Linked DNA regions of Homo sapiens: all the other regions are linked to region 3. The links are contacts of gene promoters, found by promoter capture Hi-C in human tissues and cell types (Jung and others, 2019). All regions are on one chromosome and are shown on one strand. Each heading gives the region's core, a stretch centred on a gene start or on the middle of the fragment in contact. The rest is flanking DNA. Distances are from core to core; before and after follow the strand shown. Region 1 has its middle 120 kb from the start of NEIL3. Region 2 has its middle 220 kb from the start of NEIL3. Region 3 holds the start of VEGFC (vascular endothelial growth factor C).

Region 1 (2,700 bases), core at 148-2,647, 400 kb before region 3:
ATAGAGAAAATTAATTGCAACTTTACCTTTTAGTGCAGAAAATCTTAGCACTTTGGATATCTGCCTGCTCTCTTTTTGAGGCCCAAAATATTTCTTACCCCCTGCCTTTTTTGGTTAATTTCTAGTGACAAATGCAGTGCCTGCGATATTTTCACAGCTCATTGTTGGAAGAAGGGAGGGAGGGAGGGAGGAGGAGGGAGGCAGGATGTCAGATAGTCTAATGTATTAGTAACCTCTTGGAAAAACTATTATATTTTGAAAAGTGTCAAAGAAATGTACTTTGAAGTTCACAATATTTAAATATCAGGAAAAGTGAACAATCTGGCGAATACACATCACCTTGCTTTTTTATTAATTTAACAAATGCATTTTAATCTATTTCTGGTTTTAATCTTGGGCAAGTTACAATATTTGTTAGTTTAAATTTCCTTATTTGAAAGACAATGGGATAAATAATCTTTACATTTTAATCCCACTCAAATTTTTAATACACTCTAGAAAAGAAGAACAGATTTAGGAGTGCAATGCAGATTGCTGTCTTTATGTTTTTATTGTTTGTGTTTTTATGTTGAATTGAAATATGCATATAAATGAGCTTATGAGAACTTTTAGCAACAAATAAGGTAACACTATCTTTCTACTGGTAGGAAGTGACTATGGTAGTAACAGTGTGAATGAAGGCAGTTGGGCCATGGAAATTCCATTTGCCACATCTAGAGAGGGCTTTGTAGTGGGGCCTCCTACCTATAGCATTTAGAAGCTCACATTCTTCTTTTTTAAGAAGCACTGTGGCCGGGCGCGGTGGCTCACGCCTGTAATCCCAGCACTTTGGGAGGCCGAGGCGGGCGGATCACGAGGTCAGGAGATCGAGACCATCCCGGCTAAAACGGTGAAACCCCGTCTCTACTAAAAATACAAAAAATTAGCCAGGCGTAGTGGCGGGCGCCTGTAGTCCCAGCTACTTGGGAGGCTGAGGCAGGAGAATGGCGTGAACCCGGGAGGCGGAGCTTGCAGTGAGCCGAGATCGCGCCACTGCACTCCAGCCTGGGCGACAGAGCGAGACTCCGTCTCAAAAAAAAAAAAAAAAAAAAAGCACTGTGTGAACAATAGCAAATTAGTCCAGTTTCTTTTCCTTTAATGTTAGAACATGAGAGCTTTGGAGAAAGCATTTCATCCCTGGGTTCATGGAAATTTTTTTTTTAAGTACTGGTATGTAATGGACCTTTTAGTTATATACAAGCACACTGATAGGACAATGTTTTTGGTCAGGGGGCATTTCCAGGTAGGAGAAAAGTTCAATCATATGGCAGTTCAGTTTTAGTTTGCAGTATGTATCTATATAAAGTAATTTAAAAGATGACAATCAAGCCAAAACAGTTCGAGACTTTATAGGGACTTGGAAAATTAAAATTAACTTGTGAAAAAAAATCATAAAATTATCATAACTGATTTCAGAAATGTACTGAAAGAAACATAGTTTGGGTGTACAATTAAATTACATAGGAATTAAATAAAATTCCAAAATAACATTAAGGAGCAACTTATTTGGCTATTTTGAAACATCTGATTAGTTAGCTTGCTGACTGGATTTGCTCTTTTTTTTTTTTGAGATGGAGTCTTGCTCAGTTTCCCAGACTGGAGTGCAGTGGCCCAAACTCGGCTCATTGCAACCTCCGCCTCCCAGGTTCAAGTCATTCTCCTGCCTCAGCCTCCCAAGTAGCTGGGACTACAGATGCGCACCAGCATGCCCGGCTAATTTTTGTATTTTTAGTAGAGACAGGGTTTCACCATGTTGGCCAGGCTCATCTCAAACTCCTGACCTCAGGTGATCCACTTGCCTTGGTCTCCCAAAGTGCTGAGATTACAGGCTGCTCTCTTTTTAAAATACAGTATACATTCAAAGTAAACCTTCTTTCAGAAGAGGTATACTTTCTAGTCAAAAGATTGCAGGAGCCAGATGTCTGAGAACACAATTTAGAATTTCGAAGTTTCTTGAAGGCAGATCATATACACTGAACTTTCCACATGCCCACTAGCTCAGCACTGAGCTCACAAATGCTAAGAGTTCTTTGTTTTGATTTGCTTAAGAATTTGAATATATTATCTGCAAAAATTGTTGATACAAAATGTCCTAACGTTTTTCAAGCCATAATTTATTATTCCTTATATAAATCAGAATGTGAGGCTCACAATTGTTGTTTGCCAGAGTTCAAATATTTTAAAAAGATCCTTTTTGAGAAAATATTTTATTTTCAAGCAGCCTGTGGTCAGCCTCATATGGAAGTGGGACGGCTCCCAGGACCAGTAATTTGTCAAGTGCCAAACCACATACAATAGATATAATTCTGCCTTCTGACAGCCTCATATTTAAGCACATGGATCTCATGTCAGAATATGTAAACCTGAATTGAATACGAACCAGGACTTCCTGAAATTCTATTTGAGACATAATGTATTAAAAGAAAATCATCTAGGATCTGTCAACTCTGTGTTTTCCTAGGTTTTCTCATTTTTGTCATCAGAAAGCAATACACCTAGAACATTTCTCATGATCTTACAGATATGTCTAAACTACCTTAATTTTGCCATGTTGCAAAAATTAGCAAAGAGTATTATAAAATTTTTATCTTAGGGAACACGTGTGTTCTCACATAACTTCCCAAGCTCTCTATTTTACTTTTTGCAGACCAAAACCAAATA
Region 2 (2,700 bases), core at 139-2,638, 300 kb before region 3:
CCTGGGTAACAAATGTTTACAAAATCAAAGAGTGCTTTTGAACATAACGAAGGAAAGTATGTTTTAGAAAAAATTTTCTAGGATGTTTATAGGAAATTAGAATACTTTCATTATATTATATTCTTTTGATACCAACACATTTCATTATATAGATATGTACCCAACCTTCTACTCTATATGTGAGTACAGTTTAGTGGGCTGAGGGGCTGAGACTCAGATTTCCAGTGATAGTAGATTTTAGCAAACTTTCCAAATAAATGGTTTAAAAAGTACAGCATAGAATCCCTGATGAACCCTCCAGGTTGTTTGGAAACTGATCCAGACTCTAAAGTAAGCTCTTTTGACTTGTTGTGAGTTTCCCTGGCATCAGAGGAGAAAAAAGAGAAGGAGAGTTGTTTGTTTTTTCACTAACCTTTGGAAATTCACTAAGAATAGCTTGTGGGAAGCTGAACCATCTAGAATGTTGTTACTGCCACAAATGCCAACTTGAATCAGATGTGATACAGTTGGATCCCACCATCCCTTAGCTTTCAACCATAGAAACAAAGGCCACCCACAAGCACAAGCCAGGCAGAAAGAGGTGAAGGGAAGTTATACCCCATAAGATCTTACTGGAAAAAAAAAAAAAAAAAAGGGCCACATCTGGTACTCTGCCTCTGTGGCTGTATCTCACCATATCCACCAACAGTGTTCAGGCCAGTTGCATATCTTTCTCATACTGAAGGACTAAATGATAAGATTAGCTGTTCCGAGTGCAAAGGGGCAAATGCCATAGCTCTGGAGGAGCTGATCTGTGAAAACGCGTGGGAGCAGTTGTGGATAATAGTTTTAATTTTTGATGTGATTCAAAGGAAAAAATATGAAAAGCACTGATTTGCTTTATGTTAGTAATTTGTGCTATGCGTAAGTCAGAATTTACATGACATAAAACAAGGCTGGTACCTCAGGCAGGGCCCTCCTGTGCTAACTGTATGCCAAGAAATGATCATCTGTTCTGGATTATTGTCACAGGCAGCCCTATTGTCTTTGCTATGAGTCTGCAAAAAGTAGTATCAATCTAAGTGCCTTGTGTGTTCACTGGTGTCCAAATAAGCAAGGGAAGAAGTGTGACCACATTCTCCCTCTGGCCCACTTTGAGGTTTTTGTGGCTGATTAGGTTTTGTCTTGACTTCTCTGGCCTGTCAGCTCTGGAAAGGAAAGGCCCTTAGTATATTTGGTATATTTCAACTATTTGTTTTAAAAATAATTTTGCAAGGGAGAAATTGATCTGCATAAAGCAGAAGGAGGAAATACCCTCAAGCATTTGACAATGTGTTCCATTTTTCCTTCCCACAGGGTACACAATCTTCCTGATGATTTTTTTGTTATTTCAATTACTAAAGCTTAAAGTGTCACCATATTAGGAATGGTGCATTTGACTTTAAAATACTAGTCTGAAATAAAAAATACCTAATTTTATATTACTTCAGATACGTCAATACAGGGAGAGACTTCAAATAGGTCAATACAGGTCGAGGCATCCTTCAATATTCCAGTAACAAAATATATAATTCAAAATTTTATTTAAATATATTTTTTGTTGGATTGAGTGTCAAATATTCGAGTAACTCCAAGGAAAAAGTTATGAATATGTATATATACACACATATATGTTTATGTATGTATGTATGTACATATATATGCATATATATACATATATTTCTATATATAGCAGCCTATATAATATGGTATATATAAAAAAGTAAGATTCACATATGGAAATAATGCCTTCATATAATTTTATTGAAATTAATTTTGGACTAGGAGAGTTGTAGCTATTTCAAAACTTACTGATTATCAGAACAATTGTACAAATAGTTTCTAATATGTTAAATAATTTTCTGTCTTCCCAAGTTTCAGATAGGCATCTATTATGCAGGACAAAAATTCTAAGTACCATCAATAAATTTAAAAAATTAAGTGAAAAATATTACTGTATTAAAAATTATGTCATAAAATTTAACAGCCAGAGTAACCTTGGCAGGGCTGACTATAGAATGGGACTGTAGAGAAATTTAACTGACTGTACAAATATGTTTGCAGGGTGTTGTTTTGTTTCGGTGTTATGTAAATTCTTCAAATCTAAAACAGAAAGTTTATGTAACACACGCCAAGTCAATCTCTGTATGTGCTTCATCCCTTGTTACTTGGGAAATGATGGGCTTTTCACTTAATGATGTTGAAAATCACTCCAAGGACACAAAGCCAAATATGCAGGAGACCAATTGGATGGTGTAATTTGCAAACCCATTATTTATTTCTGTCATATGGCATGAACTTTGTTTAAAGGGCTAGTAGCACAGAGTGTGTCTTGTGAGGTATACTCTTTAAAAATTTTAACACAAGACTATAGCTCTCATCAATGACTTAGAAAATAAACAACTTTTAAAACAAGCTAGTTGATATGGTTGGTAAAATAGTACTATTTAGATACTAAGTCTCATATCAAGCCTTTGACATAGAAATAGCAGGATGATCTAGGACAATAAATAAGTGAGTGATATTTTCAATCTGTGTGCTGGAAACCTTGTTTTTCAGTCTAAAACATAATCTAAGAACTTATTTTCCAAACATTAAATATAGTAACAACATTGGGTGTTCTTTCAAATTTAATATATAGCTTTCACTTCATGAGTATAGACGTAATCTTTACATTGCATT
Region 3 (2,700 bases), core at 88-2,587:
GCATACTTCATGAACATGGAAAGCTAACAGTATGGTTAAGGGGGGAAACTGGAACTGTCATCTTGGGGAATAAAAGGGATATTTAGCCAGGAGTAAAGTTAGCTTAGGGAGACCATGATAAATATTTTCAAAATATTTGAAGGACTCAGTTGTGGAAGTGAGATTAGATTTATTGTGTAAAACTCCAGGAGTCAAAAGCAATAGAGAGATAGAAGGAAATGCTTTTCAGCAGTGTTGCTCATCAATAAAGGGAGTGAACAGCCACACAGAATGGAAGGTTCCCTGTCCTTTGAGATATTTAAGCCTTCAAGTAAATTATGGGTGAGGAGTTTCAAATCTAGAGTTGAACCAGATAAGAAAGTCTCTTCTTCCGGTAAGATATTATGGACCTATAACATCTGTGTACTTAAAAGTAGATTGGGAGTGAAAGGCAGACTTTTGATGTTCTGTACACTGTTGAAACCCCTTAGCGTGGTCCTCTGTAACCTGCTCACCCTGCCCCAAGGAGGCAGCTAGCCAATGCCACCAGCCCAACGGAAACCCCAGTGCTTTTCCAATGGGGAAATGCAGTCACTTTTCTTTGGATGCTACACATCCTTTCTGGAATATGTCTCACACACATCTCTCTTTATCACCCCCTTTTTCAAGTAAACCAACTTCTTGCAGAAGCTGACAATGTGTCTCTTTACTCTCCACGAAGATTCTGGCCCTTCTCTTCACCTGTCAGAAGTTTAGGATTCCAAAGGGATCATTAGCATCCATCCCAACAGCCTGCACTGCATCCTGAGAACTGCGGTTCTTGGATCATCAGGCAACTTTCAACTACACAGACCAAGGGAGAGAGGGGACCCCTCCGAGGTCCCATAGGGTTCTCTGACATAGTGATGACCTTTTCTTGGAACTTTTACAACCCCCAGGACATTTCCAAACTTTGAGCAGGGCTCTGGGGGCCAGGCGTGCGGGAGGGAGGACAAGAACTCGGGAGTGGCCGAGGATAAAGCGGGGGCTCCCTCCACCCCACGGTGCCCAGTTTCTCCCCGCTGCACGTGGTCCAGGGTGGTCGCATCACCTCTAAAGCCGGTCCCGCCAACCGCCAGCCCCGGGACTGAACTTGCCCCTCCGGCCGCCCGCTCCCCGCAGGGGACAGGGGCGGGGAGGGAGAGATCCAGAGGGGGGCCGGGGGAGGTGGGGCCGCCGGGGAGGAGGCGAGGGAAACGGGGAGCTCCAGGGAGACGGCTTCCGAGGGAGAGTGAGAGGGGAGGGCAGCCCGGGCTCGGCACGCTCCCTCCCTCGGCCGCTTTCTCTCACATAAGCGCAGGCAGAGGGCGCGTCAGTCATGCCCTGCCCCTGCGCCCGCCGCCGCCGCCGCCGCCGCTCAGCCCGGCGCGCTCTGGAGGATCCTGCGCCGCGGCGCTCCCGGGCCCCGCCGCCGCCAGCCGCCCCGCCGCCCTCCTCCCGCCCCCGGCACCGCCGCCAGCGCCCCCGCCGCAGCGCCCGCGGCCCGGCTCCTCTCACTTCGGGGAAGGGGAGGGAGGAGGGGGACGAGGGCTCTGGCGGGTTTGGAGGGGCTGAACATCGCGGGGTGTTCTGGTGTCCCCCGCCCCGCCTCTCCAAAAAGCTACACCGACGCGGACCGCGGCGGCGTCCTCCCTCGCCCTCGCTTCACCTCGCGGGCTCCGAATGCGGGGAGCTCGGATGTCCGGTTTCCTGTGAGGCTTTTACCTGACACCCGCCGCCTTTCCCCGGCACTGGCTGGGAGGGCGCCCTGCAAAGTTGGGAACGCGGAGCCCCGGACCCGCTCCCGCCGCCTCCGGCTCGCCCAGGGGGGGTCGCCGGGAGGAGCCCGGGGGAGAGGGACCAGGAGGGGCCCGCGGCCTCGCAGGGGCGCCCGCGCCCCCACCCCTGCCCCCGCCAGCGGACCGGTCCCCCACCCCCGGTCCTTCCACCATGCACTTGCTGGGCTTCTTCTCTGTGGCGTGTTCTCTGCTCGCCGCTGCGCTGCTCCCGGGTCCTCGCGAGGCGCCCGCCGCCGCCGCCGCCTTCGAGTCCGGACTCGACCTCTCGGACGCGGAGCCCGACGCGGGCGAGGCCACGGTAGGTCTGCGTTAGGGTTTGCGGAGAACCCGAGAGTTTGCGTTAGGGTCTGCGGCGGACCCGAGAACCTGCGCGGGGGAAAGTGTGTGTGCTTTAAGCTTGTGTACGTGGGATCCAAAGTTACTGAGCTCAGTGCACGCTGCTTTGGAGAAAAATCTTCTTCTTTTTAAATAGAAAGTTGTTACTAGAGAGGCAAGCAAGTTACACGAGTGAAGGGCCCGGAGAGGTGCCCAGTGAGAGATCCCGAAATCTATTTCAGACTGGTTTCCTCTGGGGCAACCAAGGGGTCTTGAACCCTGCCCAGTCAGCGGGGCTCTGGAGAGTATGAGTTCATTTTGGTCGGGAAATGCTCGTTTCTTTCCCCAGCTGATTCATGGGACTCCAAACAGATTCTGGGACACTGGTGATCAGTCAACCCAGCCTTACTTTCCTGGAGTGTTCATAGTCTGCAGAGCACCAGGCGCTGTGAGCGACTTTAGAAAAAAAGTGTCAGGGACTTTAGTAACCAGGCTCCAGAGCTTTCAGAGTTCACTTGAAGTTGGTCAGACTTGAGATGTAACGGGAGATTAGAGTCAGTTAGATCACAATCAAGCAATGCAAGGCTTG

The links. Contacts are between HindIII fragments. The study calls those that stand out against the background at their distance.
Region 1: a fragment that was not itself captured here is called in contact with the fragment with the promoter of VEGFC in region 3 in 2 of the 25 tissues and cell types used here (IMR-90 fibroblasts and mesenchymal stem cells).
Region 2: a contact is called between a fragment that was not itself captured here and the fragment with the promoter of VEGFC in region 3, in 1 of the 25 tissues and cell types used here (hippocampus).

What each region holds. Positions count from the first base shown.
Region 1 is chr4:177,186,902-177,189,601 of GRCh38, reverse strand. No RefSeq gene overlaps it. Among named protein-coding and RNA genes, the nearest start is that of NEIL3, 120 kb to the left of the region's middle. The HindIII fragment of the contact is 5,629 bases long and covers 1-2,700 here.
Region 2 is chr4:177,092,519-177,095,218 of GRCh38, reverse strand. No RefSeq gene overlaps it. Among named protein-coding and RNA genes, the nearest start is that of NEIL3, 220 kb to the left of the region's middle. The HindIII fragment of the contact is 3,421 bases long and covers 1-2,700 here.
Region 3 is chr4:176,791,559-176,794,258 of GRCh38, reverse strand. It overlaps VEGFC (vascular endothelial growth factor C), which reads left to right and starts at 1,337. Exons shown (of 7, transcript NM_005429.5): 1 at 1,337-2,094. The coding sequence starts at 1,948. The HindIII fragment of the contact is 7,489 bases long and covers 1-2,700 here.